Regions from separate parts of the Homo sapiens genome. Here region 1 is linked to region 2. The links are contacts of gene promoters, found by promoter capture Hi-C in human tissues and cell types (Jung and others, 2019). All regions are on one chromosome and are shown on one strand. Each heading gives the region's core, a stretch centred on a gene start or on the middle of the fragment in contact. The rest is flanking DNA. Distances are from core to core; before and after follow the strand shown. Region 1 overlaps PIEZO2 (piezo type mechanosensitive ion channel component 2). Region 2 holds the start of PIEZO2 (piezo type mechanosensitive ion channel component 2).

Region 1 (4,315 bases), core at 1,027-3,526, 130 kb before region 2:
TTCCTCAGTGGGGAACATGTCACCCTGGGTGGGACAGCGATCCGGGGCCCCCTCATTCCTCAGTGGAGAACATGTCACCCTGGGTAAGACAGCGATCCAAGGCCCCCTCATTCCTCAGTGTGGGGAAGATGTCACCCTGGGTGGGACAGCGATCCGGGGCCCCCCTCATTCCTCAGCGGGGAACATGTCACCCTGGGTGGGACAGCAATCCAGGGCCCCCTCATTCCTCAGTGTGGGGAAGATGTCACCCTGGGCGGGACAGCGATCCATGACCCCCTCATTCCTCAGTGTGGGGAAGATGTCACCCTGGGCGGGACAGCGATCCGGGGCCCCCCTCATTCCTCAGCGGGGAACATGTCACCCTGGGTGAGACAGCGATCCATGACCCCCTCATTCCTCAGTGTGGGGAAGATGTCACCCTGGGCAGGACAGCAATCCGGGGCCCCCCTCATTCCTCAGTGTGGGGAAGATGTCACCCTGGGTGGGACAGCAATCCAGGGCCCCCTCATTCCTCAATGTGGGGCACTTCACCCAGATCCGGGGCCCCCTCACTCCTCAGTATGGGGCATGCCACCCTGGCTGGCTCTTCCTTCTGTCTTCCTTCTCTGTGTGCTTCACCAAACCTCCCTGATTTCATGGAGAGCTCAAAAGAGAATATTCTCTGGCAATAAAGATGGAAGTTAATGGTAATTAACTTACTCACATCTGCAAAGTCCTTTTTGCCCTATAAAATAATATGTTCACAAATTATGGAGATTAAATAAAATATTTAACCTGAAAATTTTAGAATATATCAATAATATCATGTTTTAAGAGAACGCCTTGATAATCAGTGCCAAGGTAAGGTCAAATCTAAAGGGGTGGGCCCCTTTCCTGCTGCATTTGCTGGGCTGGTTGACTGTGAGGGAAGGGACACATTTCTATGTACCCTAAGCTGCAGAACAGGAACGACTCTTGCAGCCCTGGTATTTATACTTAAGATCTGTTTATTTGCATAGTGCTCTATGGTAGACTCGAATTTCTTATGGAAAACAATAAACACGAACACACACAAAAAACCCTTTAAGGCTGACACTTTAAATCAAAACTGTTCACATGCACACATGTTCAACTTCATGTTTTAAATATTATTTTGAAAATGAAAACTTTCTAAACGTTTTTGTAAGGCTTCTTTGTTTCAATCACAATTTGCAAATCAACTGCACGTTAGTGAGAAATAGCTTGGGCAATCCTGGTGACATTCTCCCCTTTTCCTTGTTCTCCCTTTTCACCCTGGCCTCCTTCAGCCTCATTCTTCCTCCTTCTCCATTGCTCCTGTAGACCCAAACCAACAACAGCAGGACCTCTTATTAACCTCTGTTAATACCTCAATTTAGCAAATGTAATGAGTACTGTGGGTAAGAGGGAAGGAAATGAGCCCTTTGACATTCACTCTCTTTGAAACTGTCATCCCACAGGGAAAGAAACAGGCCAAGAGTGGCCAGAGTATGTAAGAGAATGGGATGACTGTGGGCAGAATCACAGGAGAGACACAGAATGTGGCGGTAGAGACGGTCAGAGCGAAAAAACAGGCACAGAGCAAGGACACAAGGCAACATCCAGAGGCAGAAAGGAGGCTGGAGGGCACTGACAACACAGAGGAACCAAAACCCAGACAATTCCCTTCAGGGGCCCCAGAGAGAAAGTGAACCCCTAGGAACCCCCTGCAAAGGGTGGGTATGAGGGGGGTCGGGTTAAGCGGCTTAACAAAGAGGTGTGCCCGAGAAATGCAATTAGTTCATCAAAAGTAAGTAACGAGTTACTCATTTAAACAAGTGATAACTCAAGGTAAAAAGAAAACAAATGCTGGGATTCTGAATACAATCCTAGAAAAGGCAAAACCAAAAATGCACAAAACAGGTACATGGTGTTGAAGAAATCATGTTTCATGATGAAAAACTCCATCAAATAATGTAATGTTTTTTCACTGGAGGCAAATTCCTTCCCAGTTTTCATCCCCATACATGTGGATTTGATATATTTATTTAGATTTTTCTTCTTAATGCTCTTGTTGGAAAAACTCCATCCTTTTGTTATTTCCTTCTCCCCTAATAATTGCTTTCTGCAATTGTTTATTTCATTATTTACTTGGTCCTGCTGATGTTTAAACATGGAGTTGGGAGAGACACTGACAAGCTGAGGGAAGTTCAGAGGAGAGCACAGGATTGAAGGGTCAGGGTTAGAAACAGTCTCAGGTGGAAGAACCAGGTACACCAGCCTGGAGAAAACCCTCATAAGAACGTGGTTCATGCATTCAAACATCTAAAAGAATTTCTAGGGACGAGGGATGAGACTTAACTTTGAGATTTTTCAAAGAACATAACTTGGACACGTTAATGAAGTCACAAAGATGTGTTTTTGACCTCTACGGTCAAAAATGTCTAATTGTCAAATGGATGGGTTGCCCTGGAAGTCCAACTGCTTCTTACATTACTGGAAGTGTTTTAGCAGAAATTAAGTGATATCTTATTAATGGTAATGTAGAAAACTTAAGCATTAAGAAGAGAGTTCTTCAAGACGTAACCTCTAATGTCCCTTACAATTCTGAAAATCCATGGGTTTTTTAATACTCTAAATAACCACAAATGACTTGCACCATAAAACATTTCATTACAATAAACACAATCTTTATGAAAGCATGAATGCCTTTTTTTTTTGAGATGCAGTTTTGCTTTTTTTTTTTTTACTGGGTATGTATAATATAATTTCTAACATAATATGTGCAGGTAATATCTATTTCAATCATTCCAGGGATGGAAATCAAGCTATAAAATTTCATACCCATTTATTTTCTCAGAGTTTATGGGTGTTGTACTGCAGAATGGTTCTTCTGTATAAAAGAAATCGTATGCCAAAAACAGGCATGCTCTTCCCTCTGCCTGGAACATTCTTCCTCAGGGTCTCCGCATTGATAGACTATTTTAATCCTCAGATGGAGACCTCTTCTTTTGAGCTCAGATTCATATCTTGATCTAAGTGCTTAGGCATTGTATTAGTTTCTTACGGCTGCTCTAACAATGTACTACAAACTGAGTGGCTTAAAACAACAGAAATGACTTCTAATCCCAGTGCATTGGGAGGTTAAGGTGGGAGGACAGCTTGAGCTCAGAAGTTCCAGGCCAGCCTGAGCAACACAGTGAGACCCTGTCTCTATTAAGTAATAATAATAATAATAACCAAACAAATAAAAAACAGAAATGTATTGCCTCACTGTTCTGGTGGCTAAAAGTCTGCAATTAAGGTGTCAGCAGGGCCCTGCTCCCCGAGAAGGCTTTAGTGTAGAATTGTTCCCTGCCCCTTCCAGCTTTGGGTAGTGGCCGGTCATCCACAGTGGTCCTTGCTTGCAGCTGCATTACTCCGGTTCCTGCCTCAGTCATCGCATGGTGGTGGTGGTGGTGGTGGTGGTGGTGGTGTGTGTGTGTGTGTGTGTGTGTTCTCTCTTCTTAAGACACAGGCATATTGAATTAATGGCCCACACTACTCCTTTTCTTAACTTGATTGCACCTGCAAAGACCATATTTCCAAATAAGGTCACATTCTGAGATCCTGGGGGTTAGGACTCCCAACATGTCGTGTGTGTGTGTGTGTGTGTGTGTGTGTGTGTGTGTGTGTGTGTGTGTGTGTTGAAATAAAGGAAGAACATGAGCTTGGATCAGACTTAACATATGATTCCTGATCTGTTGGCAGGAAGATTAATCAGAGTTTGACGTAATTGTGGTGTCTCATTTATGGCCAAATTGTGAATCCCGCTGAAGAATCGCCAGCAGCCACTGAACGGTGGGTGACACTACTGTGAACACACATGTATGCCTGGTGGGACAGCTTGCTCCTAATAAAGATATTTCTATTTTGTCTTGTCCATTTAATCTGACATCTATGATTAGGCAGAAGATGCATTATTGAGACAAGGAACAGAAATGATGTCTCCTTCCTTTTGGAACCCCATGAAGAGATCTCATTTTATTTTAAGGATGAGTGGATATGTGAGTCCACTCATACCCACATATCTTTTTGAGGTATACAATTCTACCCATAACAGATATCTCAACCACAACATGTCTAAAATGAATCTCTTAATTCTATCCCAAAACACTTCTTCACCTATTTTTCTCCACTTTAGTAAATGTCACCACAATCCATCACAGGTGTTTCGTGAGTGTGTGTGTGAGATCAACCCCAAAATTCAGGACGGAGCCTTGATTTTTTGTGCCCTTCATAGTCCACATCCAAGCCACCAGCAAACCCTGCTGGTTCTTACCTCCACGATGTAACTTAC
Region 2 (4,183 bases), core at 1,127-3,626:
CTATGCGAGTGAGACTAGACCCCTGCAAAATGGAAACTCAAACTGCAAAGTAGAGAACGAGGCCAGCATCCACCCGTGGGTCCCTCCTGCTGCCCCGGGACCCCGCCTGGCCACACCTTCCCTCCACTCGGAGCGCCTTTCTGGGTTTTCCGCTGAGGTTTGTTGAAAAGACGCCTCCCAGACTCTTCACTCACGAAGTGTGTTACAAAAACTCTCCCGGCAACTGTCCTGACCCTCACCAATCACGCTACAGCCCCCATTCGATTGCTTGCACAAAGAAAACATTTAACACAGGTGTGATCAACCTCGGTCAAGATGCAGAGTCATCAACCTCGGTCAAGATGCAAAAAGGTGGCCTTTTCTGCGAAGGCCACGCCCTCTGTAAATACAGTTACTACTTGGTGAAAAGCGCTCTACTTCCTAGCTCTTGTTGGTGAGAGGGAGAGCAAAGAACCAGGGCCCGGCATTCTTACGAGAGGAATTCAATGTCACAGGCACTGCCTGTTTGAGGAGAAGATCAGAAACGGTCCGACTCCCAGAACGCAGCACCCAGTTGCTTTGCACGCCAGGCCAGTCCTGGGGAAACGGTGCAACGCTTGTCTGGGCGTCGAGGAGGCTCCCTTGCGGTCCTCCCTGGGCCCTTGCCAGTCCCAAGGAGTTCCAACCCTGCTTTCTAACCCTTTAAAATCTGGAGAGGGCGGCCGCTGGGAGGCGGGACTAGGTGTTGGGGGTCTATAGCCTTAGCATCCAGTACTTTTGTAGTAGGGGCTTTTGTGGAGGTTTTAAAAAATAAGTAAGAAACGTCAAGGCACTGTCTCCCTGTACCTCGTCCCTCTTTTTCTTTTTTGAATGACCGGAGTCCTTCACTTCTTCCTTCACGGTTGCTGGGATTTGGGGTCTGGGAGAGATGGCCTCTGGGCCGTCTGGAGGCACAGCATGCTGTGCTTGCAGGGTCACTGGGGCGAGGGGCTCAGGTAGGAGCCTGACTGTACCTACGATGGGGACGCATCCGCCTTCCAGCCACAGCAATGGCCATCCTTAGTACACAAGTCAGTACTCCACGAAAGAAAATCCACGTGTAACTAAATTCAACATAAACAGTTTCCAGCACATGCCCGTCCCGAGCATCCTGTTAAGAGATACCCCGATCGCGCGCCCCAGAGTGGGAAGTGAGAGAGCCAGGCTGTGCACCAGGGACAGCGCGCGTCTGACGCCGCTGGCCTCCCGAATCGAACCCCAGAGCACCAGAGCCCTTCACTTTGTTAAGAAGTCCCCCACCCAGGCGCCCCCCTCGTCCTCCTCAAGTGCCCTCGGAAAGCGGACCAGACTCACCTACTGCCAGGCAGATGGGCAGCAGCAGCCTGAAGATGAGCCCGCACACCACTTCTGAGGCCATCGCGTCGGTCCGGCGAGTCGGAGCAGAGGGGCGAGGCTCGAGGGTCCCTAGGGGTGGTGGGACGCAAGGCCCATGCCCGTCTATGGCCTCTCGCCGCCGGCAGCTCGCAGCCACCCGAGCATCGCCTCGGCGCGGGCCGCGACGCTCTCCGCCCCGAGGGCACGCTCCCGGGGCTCTTGGCCGCCCCTCGCCCACCGGGCTCTGGGTAGCCCCTCACCAGGCTCTTGGCGGCCACCTAGCCCGGCGCCCGGCCCCCTGCGGCCGGCCCATTTAGTGTGAATCCTGGATCCGGCAGCGGCGGCGGCTTCTTCAGGGGTAGCTGATGCCGGGGCCTTGGAGAGGGACGCTTTGGGAGGGTCCTGGGAGGCGGCGCGGCGAGCAAAGGGGGCAAGAAGGGCGTGCTGTGCTCCCGCCTGGCTCCCGGGGCGTCGTTTGGGGGCGGCCGGGGAGTTTTCTACTTGGAAGCCCCTCTGAAGCCACCGCGTCTCCTTTGCCCGGCCTCGTCTCCGCTGCCCACGCAGGCTGCCGCGCTCTGGCCTCGGCCCCGGCTCTCGGAGCTGCCCGGCGGGCTCCGGGTCTCGCCCTCCAGCCCCCAGGCGGCCCGCGGCGGATCCCCGAGAGGCAGCGCAGCTCAGCCCCTGCGCCCCCCAGCTTCGGGCCGGAGAGACCGGGGTGGGAGCTGCCAGGCGCGCAGAACCATCCCCGCCACCACGGGGCTCGCCTTGTGGGTCCGGTGCGCGGGCGGCGCTGCGAGTCCCTCCCTCACTCGAAGGAACGGCGCGAGCGTGGGGAGAAATGGAGACCAGAGCGCATATCGGGTGAGTGGGTCTCCCACTCCCTCCTCCACCGCCTCAATTTAAAACTCAAGAGAAAAACCAGCGCCGTCCCGTCGCCCAGCGCGACCACCGCCTGCCGCCTTGCAGCCTCGCCCTCGCGGCGCAGCCGGGGCTCCCCGGCGGCGCGCGCTTCTCCACCTTCAATGAAACTTTCGAAGCCCTCACTCGGGGACGGGCGTGTCCCCCGGCCAATGGGATGGCGGCTCCGGGGCCTGCGCGCGCGGAGCCCGCCCCTGAGCGGCTGGGGAAGTGAGAGCCTTGCACCGGCGCGGAGGGCAAGCCCCCACCCGCGGCTCCCGCGCCTGGGAGAGACCCGGCCTGGCCTGCCAGTGGGCTGCGCGCCTTGGCTCGCCCTCCGCGGGCACTCCTGCCCCACTGGCTCCCGCAGCCCCGCGGCTCTGCGTGGTTCTGTCATTCCGGTGGTGCACCCTGGCATCCAGTCCACCCGGCCGGGCCCTGAGCTTGCCCAAACCCAGGGAACCGTTTAAGGTCCGAGGGAAACGCACAGGCCCGGCAGGAGAGAAGCCAGGGGCTTGGAGAGTCCTGTGCGACCCCGACTTCTGCTGGGTCCACAGGTGCACACTGGCATTAAGAAGAATAGAGCTGAATTCATCTACACCGTTGACCCTGCCCATATTTCACATAGCAAGAACTTGCCATTCTGAATAGACTCTGGGAAATCCCGGGTCTTCCCCAACAGATAATGCACCCACTTTGTGCATTTGGGGGAACTCTCCGTTTTCACCTCAGTTTTGCTCCTTGCTTGTCGTGGCTCTGGGGAAAGAGAGCGTTGGCACTGAGAATATTCTCCCTTTCTCCTAGTGCACTGCTTTTTGCCTGTTCTAGGCAAGATCTAGAGAAATCTGGCTCTAGCTGGGAGACTGCAGTGTGCCTGGGTCTTTTATTTAACTGTTATCCGAGAGTGGAGGAGATTTGCTAGAGCACAGTAGGGGTCTTTCCGGACATGGAGGAAGAGGCTGTTAGCATCTGTAGAGAGGACTGTTCAGGACTGGCATTCCATCAGGAGGACACACTGGGAAGGACCTGGCTTCCCTTCCGCACCTACATTCCTGGCTTGCATTAGTTGGAGGGGATAGAGCAGTGAGCTGATGAAAAACAGGCAAACCCCCGTCTTTTTAGCCATTTGAAACGCTTTTGTGGACATCCCTTTTTTGAGACAGGGTAAGCTTGTGGTTTGAGCTCAGGTGCCTTCACGAATTCTCTGAGAATTACAGAAAAACTATGAACCATTGCTTTTTGAATGAAGACTCAAGACAGTTGGCATATGGTGAAGACACCCTGAAACTTAAACCACCCATGTGCTCTGCCATCCTCAAGAAGCTTAGATAGCACCTAAACCCGGGCGTAGTCATGAGCTCAACAGCAGACCTACAGGAGACGATAGAACTTAAATTAGCATCCAGTCACCAAGAAATGCTATCAAGAAATGGTTTGTGTAGCCTGTTTGTAGAAGCCTGATATAAATCTACCACTAATTTTGATGTTCATAAGTCTGCCTTCACATCCATGCCCTCCCCACCTCACCCCATGTACGACTCATTCTTGGGAGCTAATAGGTGAAGGACTCCTGAATTTTAAATAATACTGTGTCATCACATGAATTCTGTATTCTCTGAATACTTTCTTATGTTCTTGATAGGCTTCCCATACTAACAACTGTCTAGACTTTTTCACAATAATTCTCTTTCAAAATAACATAAGCTGGGAGGCACAAGATTCCCAGCAGGTGGGTGGTCTTACCAAATAAACTTCGAGCTTTCTCTGCCACAGTGTGTACCAACTTGGCTGCTGGGGCGTTAGAGATTTTAACAACTACATCCCAGTTCTGAGACTTCCAACGTATGTACTCAAGGGGAAGTTTCAGCGGTCTAGACTACATCTGAAATAGGCTTCTCCATGCTGGCTACATGTTGCAGTCACCTGGGGAGCT

What was found. The method cuts DNA at HindIII sites, captures the fragments that hold promoters and counts their contacts. A contact is called where the count stands out against the background at its distance.
Region 1: a fragment that was not itself captured here is called in contact with the fragment with the promoter of PIEZO2 in region 2 in 4 of the 25 tissues and cell types used here (dorsolateral prefrontal cortex, lymphoblastoid cells, mesendoderm cells and 1 more).

What each region holds. Positions count from the first base shown.
Region 1 is chr18:11,014,772-11,019,086 of GRCh38, forward strand. All of the region lies in intron 2 of PIEZO2 (piezo type mechanosensitive ion channel component 2), which reads right to left. Among named protein-coding and RNA genes, the nearest start is that of PIEZO2, 130 kb to the right of the region's middle. The HindIII fragment of the contact is 9,138 bases long and covers 1-4,315 here.
Region 2 is chr18:11,147,193-11,151,375 of GRCh38, forward strand. It overlaps PIEZO2 (piezo type mechanosensitive ion channel component 2), which reads right to left and starts at 2,377. Exons shown (of 56, transcript NM_001378183.1): 1 at 1,333-2,377. The coding sequence starts at 1,396. LOC124904249 (a long non-coding RNA gene) reads right to left here and starts at 1,324. Exons shown (of 2, transcript XR_007066288.1): 1 at 1-1,324. RefSeq lists enhancers at 870-919, 948-1,786 and silencers at 1,480-1,549, 1,560-1,739, 1,760-2,039, 2,280-2,729. The HindIII fragment of the contact is 6,242 bases long and covers 1-4,183 here.